Regions from separate parts of the Homo sapiens genome. Here all the other regions are linked to region 3. The links are contacts of gene promoters, found by promoter capture Hi-C in human tissues and cell types (Jung and others, 2019). All regions are on one chromosome and are shown on one strand. The core of a region is centred on a gene start or on the middle of the fragment in contact, and the rest is flanking DNA. Distances in the headings are between cores, read along the strand shown.

Evidence for each region. Contacts are between HindIII fragments. The study calls those that stand out against the background at their distance.
Region 1: a contact is called between a fragment that was not itself captured here and the fragment with the promoter of FAM171A1 in region 3, in 2 of the 25 tissues and cell types used here (dorsolateral prefrontal cortex and mesenchymal stem cells).
Region 2: a contact is called between a fragment that was not itself captured here and the fragment with the promoter of FAM171A1 in region 3, in 4 of the 25 tissues and cell types used here (dorsolateral prefrontal cortex, heart right ventricle, liver and 1 more).

Annotation. Positions count from the first base shown.
Region 1 is chr10:15,274,848-15,278,366 of GRCh38, forward strand. It overlaps FAM171A1 (family with sequence similarity 171 member A1), which reads right to left. Exons shown (of 8, transcript NM_001010924.2): 3 at 1,008-1,100. Among named protein-coding and RNA genes, the nearest start is that of FAM171A1-AS1, 68 kb to the left of the region's middle. The HindIII fragment of the contact is 3,779 bases long and covers 1-3,420 here.
Region 2 is chr10:15,305,004-15,308,025 of GRCh38, forward strand. All of the region lies in intron 1 of FAM171A1 (family with sequence similarity 171 member A1), which reads right to left. Among named protein-coding and RNA genes, the nearest start is that of FAM171A1, 65 kb to the right of the region's middle. The HindIII fragment of the contact is 8,166 bases long and covers 1-3,022 here.
Region 3 is chr10:15,369,947-15,372,992 of GRCh38, forward strand. FAM171A1 (family with sequence similarity 171 member A1) reads right to left here and starts at 1,343. Exons shown (of 8, transcript NM_001010924.2): 1 at 1,010-1,343. The coding sequence starts at 1,106. RefSeq lists silencers at 1,100-1,329, 1,340-1,389. The HindIII fragment of the contact is 11,349 bases long and covers 1-3,046 here.

The sequences.
Region 1 (3,519 bases), core at 281-2,780, 95 kb before region 3:
AACCCAAATGTCCATCAATGATAGACTGGATTAAGAAAATGTGGCACATGTACACCATGGAATACTATGCAGCCATAAAAAATGATGAGTTCATGTCCTTTGTAGGGACATGGATGAAGCTGGAAACCACCATTCTGAGCAAACTATCGCAAGGACAGAAAACCAAACACCACATGTTCTCACTCATAGGTGGGAAATGAACAATGAGAACATTTGGACACAGGGTGGGAAACATTACACACCGGGGCCTGTCGTGGGGTTGGGGGAGTGGGGAGGGATAGCATTAGGAGATATACCTAATGTAAATGACGAGTTAATGGGTGCAGTACACCAACATGGCACATGTATACAGATGTAACAAACCTGCATGTTGTGCACATGCACCCTAGAACTTAAAGTATGATGTATAATTTAAAAAATAATAAGTGGATTCCATTTAAGTTTTTTTTTTTTTTTTGAGATGAAGTCTCACTCTGTCACCCAGGCTGGAGTGCAGTGGCACAATCTTGGATTACTGCAACCTCCACCTCCCAGGTTTAAGCGATTCTCCTGCCTCAGCCTCCCAAGTAGATGGGATTACAGGCATGTGCCACCATGCCTGGCTAAATATTTTTTTTTTTTGTATTTTTAGTAGAGATGGGGTTTCATCATGTTGGCCAGGCTGGTCTCCAATCCCTGACCTCAAATGATCAACCCACCTAGGCTTCCCAAAGTGCTGGGATTATAGGCATGAGCCATAAGATTTTAGTAGGTGGCCCAAAACTGACTGTTGTTTCTCTTTTTAATTATTGTACATACCAAAATAATGAAAAGAGTAAATTTCAAATGTCTCACTATAAAAAATGTTAGGCAAGTGAGGTGATAGACAAGTTAATGATGGGTTAATGTGTTTGATTTAATCAATCCACCTTGTATACAAACATCACATCACATTGTACACCATAAATGTATACAATAATGTATCCATCAAAAATAACAATAAAAACTGAAAAAAATATTAAATATACCTTGGAATCCTGATACTATTTGGACGACATCTTCATATACCATTAGAGTGGCAGAGCGTTCTGGAAGCAGGCCAAGGCTCAGAGAGGAAAATACTGCAGGAAAAAGAAATGGATAGAAGGGGATTTTAATAGTCATATTTAAGTGCCTACTCTAATTTTTGGGATACTCTGCAGTTTTTGTATTTTCTGATTTCAAATCAATTAATACAATTAATTTTTAGTTAGATTAGCAAAAGACCTTCAAAATGCTACAAGTGTATTGCAGTATCTCATATAACAATTACTTGCCTTACAATGGTCATCTTTTTTCATTTGTTAGAAGTTTTCTTTTTTTTTTCTTTTTTCTGAGACGGACTCTCGCTTGTCACCAGGCTGGAATGCAGTGGCGCAATCTCAGCTCACTCTAACCTCCGCCTCCCAGGTTCAAGCGATTCTCCTGCCTCAGACTCCCGAGTAGCTGAGATTACAGGCACCTGCCACCATGCCCAGATAATTTTTGCATTTTTGGTAGATACAGGGTTTTACTGTGTTGGCGAAGCTGGTCTCGAACTCCTGACTTCGTGATCCACCTGCCTTGGCCTCCCAAAGTGTTGGGATTACAGGCGTGAGCCACTGCGCCCAGCCAGAAGTTTTCAGTAAAGTAACTAAGCCTCTTCACATTAGGAGTATATGAAAGTTATCATGTATACACTACATGAATGTAGAATACATAATGTTAGATGTTAACATTAAGAATGGCTTTAAAAATACGTGTCTAGGTTAATGTGTACCTCATGGTAAAAGAATATTCCCCCAATCCTGGGAACTAATAACATGATAGAAATTGTGCTTTTCATTTTTATTTTTTTGAGACACGGTCTCACTCTGTCACTCAGGCTGGAGTGCAGTGGCACGGTTAGAACTCACTGTAGCCTCGACCTCCCAGGCTCAAGTATCCCTGCTGCCTTAGTCTCTCAAATAGTTGGGACCATGGGTGTGCACCACTGCACCCAGCTAATTTTCAAAATTTTTTGTAGAGACAGGGTCTCCATATGTTGCCCAGGTTACTCTCAAACTCCTGGGCTCAAGCAATCCTTCCCACCTTTGCCTTCCAAAGTCCTGGGATTATAGGCTAGAGCCACTGCACCTAGCCAAGTTATGCTATTTTCAAACTCTTGCTTAAGTACCTGGATTTCTAAAAAATTTTAGAAACCCCACAAATTTCTGGGTAAAACATGAATTTAAGAGAAAAACAAATAAATGCATTATAGAATAATAATCATCACTCACATTACTGAACCTTTACTAACAGGACAAACAGTATTCTAAGTGCTTTAATTTTAGTAATTTATTTAAGCTTCAAAACAGCTCTATCACTTAGGCATTATTATTATTATTTTTGAGACAGAGTTTCACTCTTGTTGCCCAGGCTGGAGTGCAATCGCGTGATCTTGGCTCACTGCAACCTCCGCCTCGCAGGTTCAAGTGATTCTCCTGCCTCAGCCTCCCGAATAGCTGGGATTACAGGCACCTGCCACCATGCCCAGCTAATGTTTTAAAAAATATTTTTAGTAGAGACAGGGTTTCACCATGTTGGCCAGGCTGGTTTCAAACTCCTGACCTCAAGTGATCCATCTGCCTTGGCCTCCCAAACTGCTAGGATTACAGGCATCAGCCAACGTACCTGGCATCTGAAGTAGGCATTATTAACATGCCCATTTCACAGGTAAGGAAACAGGTTTACAGATGAGGAAGTAACTCACCCAATATCCCACAGCTAATAAATGCCAGGGCTACGATTTGAACTCTGGAGTTCTCAACCACTATGAGACATGGAAAAGTTGGCCTAGAGAGGTAAATGACATTCTGGGAAAACATCAGGATCTAGAAGATAAGTGCTAAGAAGATCAGTCACTTCACAGTGCTGGCTCTTTTTTTTTGAGATGCAGTTTCGCTCTTGCTACCCAGGCTGGAGTGCAGTGGTGCAATCTTGGCTCACTCCAGCCTCTGCCTCCCACGTTCAAGCTATCCTCCTGCCACAGCCTCCTGAGTAGCTGGAATTACAGGTGTGCATCACCATGCCTGGCTAATTGTGTATTTTTAGTAGTGATGGGGTTTCGTCACATTGGCCAGGCTGGTCTCAAATTCCTGGCCTCAAGTGATCTGCCCTCCTCGGCCTCCCAAAGTGCTGGGATTACAGGCATGAGCCACCGTGCCCGGGTAAGCAGTGCTGGCTCTTAGTGCCATAGGGCACCAGTGAGTTGGCCGTGGATGTGACCTCTTTTCACTCAGCCTCCACACAGTCAATTTATTTAGCTGTCATCATATACGAGGCTCAGATCTACACCCTGGGTGGAACAGATCAGTGTTAGAAGCAGCCTGTGCCTTCAAGAGTTATGCATTGCAAGGGTACTAGACTTGAAACAAGTAGCTGTACGACACGCAGAATGGGCCAGGTACCAGGAGAAAGACAAGAATAGCAGCTTGGTGCTGCAGAAACAGCCTGGGAGTTCCTCAAATATTAAACACAGAG
Region 2 (3,022 bases), core at 161-2,660, 65 kb before region 3:
TGGGATTACAGGCATGAGCCACAGCACCCGGCCAAGTAACTATCTTCCCTGTAGCTGCCCATCCTCTACTGGTCTGTTGGCCTCACCACACCTGAATAATAATAAAACTTATAATTTAAAATAGTAGATGACTCAAGGTTTTCCCGGTGAAGATACGCCATGAACAAGGTACTGGTGCAGAACTAGTTTTATTTATACTTGCTGCAAGGAAGATCTTTGTAACAGTTTAGGCTGCATGAATAAACAGTAAATTCTAGATCACAGAAAATATTAATCTGGAGAGAGGAAATGTCTGGTTAGGTAAGCACAATAAAAGACTCAGTATCAGACCTGATGAACCTCTCACGTCACCTTCCCGACTCTATAATGTCTATAAAAGAACTGAATGGAGGGCTGGGTGCCATGGCTCATGCCTATAATCCCAGTAACTCAGGAGGCTGAGGTGGGAGGATTGCTTGAGGCCAGGAGTTCAAGACCAGCCTGGGTGAGACCCATCTTTACATAAAATTAAAAGCTTAGCCTGGTGTGGTGTGCATGCCTGTAGTCCCAGTTACTCAGGGGGCTTAGGTGGGAAAATGGCTTGAGGTCAGGAGTTTGAGGCTGCAGTGAGAAGTGATCATACCACTGTACTCCAGCCTGGGTGACAGAGTGAGATCTGGCTAAAAAAAAAAAAAAAAAAAAAAAAGATCAGAAGAGTGAATGAAAAATTTCAGACTTTGGACAGCAAAAAATCACTGAAGATTTTTGAGCAGGGAAGTGGTTAATTGTACATCCAATATGCAAATTGGACTGCCACAGAAGGACACTGTGGGGTGAACCCATGGTGAAAGTCCAGCCCTAAAATCGGAGAAAGGCTTGCTGGTGCCTATGTGCCTGTGCACGAACACGGGGACAGACATAGGAGGAAGACTAACGCCAAACTTCAGATCCTCTCTCAACACAGGCGAGGAGGGTGGCCTGGACAGAGCTCTTAGTGGAACTGCTCTCAAAATATCATCAGAACGGGGTCTGACAGCATGGACAAGATCATGCAAAGGAATCGCACAAATAGAGCATGATCCATGGATAACATGATAAATGTATCACGGGCATGGGTCTCGTGTGCAACTCGACCGTATGTTTCTTGCTGGGGCAAGCCCCTATCTTCACATTCAGATGTGCATTTACCTGAATAATGTGATTGAGAAGATTTTAAGTTACAGATTTCAATTCAGGTGTTTCACTGAGGCTATGACAGGTAAACTGTTTGGGGTTCTTCTTTGAAAAAGTCAAATTAAAATATTTAAATTGTGCAGAGGAAAAAATGCTTACATCATTGTCATCAATATCAATGTAATTTATTTAACCCTTTTAGGATTAGCCATTCTTTTTTTTTTTTTGAGAGACAGTCTTGCTCTGTCACCCAGGCTGTAGTGCAGTGGCACAATCTTGACTCACTGCCACCTCTGCCTCCTGGGTTCAAGCGATTCTCCTGACTCAGTCTCTCGAGTAGCTGGGACTACAGGCATGCCCCACCATGCCTGGCTAATTTTGTGTATTTTTAGTATAGACGGGGTTTCACCATGTTGGCCAGGCTGGTCTCAAACTGCTGACCTCAGGTGATCCACCCGCCTCAGCCTCCCAAAGTGCTGGGATTATAGGCGTGAGCCACTGAGCCTGGCATAGCCATTCTTTTTCAATGGACTGTCACGACCATCAGATTTAAGGTGAAGAATCTCAAGGATGACCACCCAAAAATATAAATGAGGGCAGTGACTGAAAGCCACATCTTAAGTACAACTATCTGCAGCCAGAGAAGCAGCAGTTCCATCCAGAATCCTTTTCTTCTACTCAATTAGGTCCTATCCACCTTCTCACCGGAACTAAGTCCAGCTGACATCCATCATGACTAACACTCCTGCCAGACCAAGCCTCCTAGAGCACGGCTTTCCATCACGCCATGTGCCCTTCAAAAACACTCAGTGATTCTGAAGACACGGAACCCTCTCCAGGGCTTTCGGTCACTGCAGTTCACAGGTGCGGATATCCACTTACATCCAGGGTACTGTGGAAAGGCTCTCTGTTGGGTGACCTTATTTCCTGCTTCTATGTGCTGACCCAGGAGCATGAGGATGACACCATCAGCCCACCCGCAAGAGGGCACATACCTTGATTTGTTTTTCAGAAAGTTGGAATCTGCACAAACCCTGCAAATTCCCATTTGCTTGCAGGGTGCAAATGCATGTCATATACACAGGCCATATGGGGGCTGAACCTGCAACCCTGACACGACACAGACGTGATTCTAACAGGCTGAGCTAACAGGCCATACACAGGATCAAATAGTGAAGATTCCATCTTAAAGTAGAAAGCGACTTGAGGCCGGGTGCAGTGGCTCACACCTGTAATCACTGCATTTTGGAAGGTTGAGGCGGGTGGATCACCTGAGGTCAGGAGTTCGAGACCAGCCTGGCCAACATGGTGAAACATCGTCTCTACTAAAAACACAGCAAATTAGCCAGGCATGGTGGCAGGCTTCTGTAATCCCAACTACTCAGGAGGCTGAGGCAGGAGAATCGCTTGTATTCGGGAGGCAGAGGTTGCAGTGAGCCGAGATTGCACCACTGCACTCCAGCCTGGGCAACAAGAGTGAAACTCCATTTCAAAAAAAAAAAAAAAAAAAAAAAATGCGACTTGAAGAAGATCTCAAAACAGTTCTACCACCACAAAACCATGGGTATATTCTTCCAATACTGTGATGTTTCCTTCCTAATCAACCAACCAATAAGTCTTATTTAGGAGCACAGAGGCAATGTGGGGGAATTAATGCCTTTTTTTTTTTTTGAGACAGCATTTTGTTCTGTTGCCCAGGCTGCAGTGCAGTGGCTACAGCTCACTGCAGCCTCGAATCCTTGGGCTCAAGCGATCCTCCTACCTCAGCCTCCCAGGTAACTGGGACCAAAGGCACATGCCACCATACTGGGCTCATTTTTTATTTTTTAATTTTTTTGTAGAGATGAGGTCTAGCTATGTTGCCCATGCT
Region 3 (3,046 bases), core at 93-2,592:
CAGCGGTGCCCTGGGTGAATGCAGAGGCTCATCTGCGGGCCTCAGTGGCCCTTTTGAAAACGCCAGCAACAGAGGAGTCCTCGACGCTGTCCCCACAAAAATGTGCCAAGCAAGCCTCAGGGTGGGTGTGGGGGACTCCCCTCAAAAAACGCTGATTTTAAAAACAAAAGACAGGCTCGTGGCCATTCTCAGAGGCGACCACGTTACTCCCAGGGCTGGAAAGCAGATTTGTGGAGGCCAAAGACGAGACAAAAGGCACGAGCTGGCGACAAACTGATCTGGAAAGGATTTTTCTTTTTTTTTTTTTTTTTTTTGGTGAGCGATGAGGGCCTCCCAGTTCAATTCTTTCTTCCCTTACAGAGAAGACTCATGGGCCGCTGAGCAAATCCCTTATGGTCTGGAAGAGACGTCAGATAGGCAGGGGGAGAGAACCCCCCAAACTTTCCCAAACTGCGGCAGGCTAGTGGCTAGTGGCGGCAGCGGACCTCGGGGCCCCGGGACACAGGGGGCACCCCGGGGCGTCAGCCACCCCCTCCCGCCACAACAAAAGGCCCCAGCGCAGCCCAGGAGCTGGGACTTCCCAGACCCGAGCCCGGCGTGGGGAGCCGGGAGCGCGATCGGGCGGCGCGCCCTGGGCGGCCCCTCTGTCCGCGGCGACATGGGAGACAGAGCCGCGTGTCCGAGGCGCGGCATAAAGGGGACCCCCGGGCGCATCCAGACGAGCCCCCGCCGCAGCGGCGACAGCAGCTGGAGCTGCCCGCGCCCCCGCCCGACCCAGCCCCCGATCCCCGGCCCCCGAAGCCTCCGCCCGGGTCACCCCGCGTCGCCGGCCCGCGCCGCCCCCTCGGGAGCGCGTTGCGGGTGCTGCAGGCCCGGAGGCTCCCGATGCGGCTCGGGCTGCGTCGCCACCACGCGGCCCGGGACCCTCCCGCCGCCGCCGCCGCCGCCGCCGCCTCCGCGCCAGGCCCGGCGCGACACAAAGCCCCCGGCCCCGCCGCCGCCCACTGACCTTGGGCTCCGGCGCCGGGCTCCCGCAGCGTCTTGGTCACCGCCTTCCAGACGTGGCAGCCCAGCAGGCACAGCAGCAGCGTCGCGGACCTGCTCATCTCCGCCGCGGGGCCGGCGGCGGCTCGGGCTCGCCGAGAGCGGGCCGGGCGGCGGCGCGTCACGGGCGGCCGGGCGCCGCGCCCCCCTCCATGTCGCTGGCTCCGCGCGCCGGGCCCGCCGCCCGATTGGCCCGGCCCCGCCGCCCCGGCCGCTCCCTCCCGCGCCCCGCGCCGGGTTTCCCCGAAGAGCCGCGGCGGCGGCGGCGGCGGCGGCTGCTGCTGCTCCGCCAGCTCCTTAACCCCTTCCTGCCTCGCCCGCCGCCGCCGCCGCTGCCCGCGCCCAGGCCCCGGGCCCGTGGTGCCACCTGGCGGCTGCGGCGCCGAGGGCGCCCCCGCCCGGCGCCGCTGCGTCGCGCCCCCAGCCCGACCCCCGGCGACACTGCCCCGGCGCGCCCCATCCCCGCAGCCCCGCAGAAGAGCCAGACCTGCCTTTCAGGGCGGAGCCCTTTTCATCACACCAGGTCACCCAAGGGGCCGCAGGAGACATTGTATCTGGGTGTGACCCCCCCACCAGGTGCCATCCTAATGTAGTTGTGTCCCCCAACGTAGATTTCACACCCAGTGTTAAAGATCCGCAAAAACACTCCCCAAGCCAGTATAGACTGCAGTAGGCCTGCAGTACCTACGTGTTGGCGGGTGGACAGCTTCAGGAGGAATGGTACTTGGATGGTTCTAGGGGTTAGGGTGGGGAGGAAATCCACATCTTTTGAGGCCCTAGGTGCTTTAAAACTTTCTGTCCTATTAAAGAAAAAAGACTATTCCATGACACGTGTGAAAGCACAGCAAAGAAGACCCTCTTTGGAACCATCGCAATAGGTATAAGCCCTACCATGGGATTCTGCAGTCGGGGAGAAAGGTTGGGTTCAACTCTGAATACAGCAGGAACAAGTGGGGATTTATAACCGAGGACCAGGGTGGGATGCAGGGAATGAAAAATTATAAGAGGAAACATCAGGGGGAAGGGGGATTCTTGAAAGTCAGACATCCCCTGGCAGGGCTGGGCAGGACAGGGCGGATGGGGAAGCTGATCAGATATCCAGGGTGGAGGGTTCTTGGTAAACTGACTTAGCAGGGTTCTTCCTGAAAGCAGATTTTACAAGGAAGGGCACAACTGAGCCTAGAAGAAGGTTCCGGAGCCTGACTGTAGTTCGGTCAAGCAGAGACTCTTTGTCCATCTTCACAATACATGATCTAAGAGGTAGTTAGCATTATCCCCCCCATTCACAGATGAGAAAAGAGGCTAAAGAGGGTTAAGGAATTTGTCCAAAAGTGCATACCTGGTCAGTGGCAGAGCCAAAATTCTAATAAAACAGTCAGTCTGACCCCAAAATTGAAACTCTTCACAAAAACCTCCAGACTTGGCTGGGTGTGATGGTTCATGCCTATAATCCCAACACTTTGGGAGGCTGAGGTAGGTGGATGGCCTGAGTTCAGGAGTTAAGAGACCAGCTGGGCCAACATGGTGAAACCCTGTCTCTACCAAAAATACAAAAAAATTAACCAGGCATAGTGGCCCATGCCTGTGGTCCCAACTACTCAGGAGGCTGAGGTGGGAGGATCGCTTGAACCTGGGAGTGGGGAGGTTGCAGTGAGCCAAGATCGTGCCACTGCACTCCAGCCTGGATGACAGACTGAGACCCCGTCTCAAAAAAAAAAAAAAAAAAAAATCAAAAAATAAAACCACCAAAAAAACCACACACAAAACAAAACCAAACCTCTAGACTTTCCTTGAGCCTAGGGACCCCCTCCATTCCAACCTCAACTTTTCTTTCTCTCAACCCACTCCTGTCGGTATGCCTTCCACACAACCTTCACCTCCACTTGTCCCTCTCCACCTTCTCTTCCAACTAGCACTGCGGTGACCTTCCGACTTCCACTGGGGACCTAGGAAAATCCACTCCAGACCCATCATCCACCCCACACTGCTTCCAGAACACCAG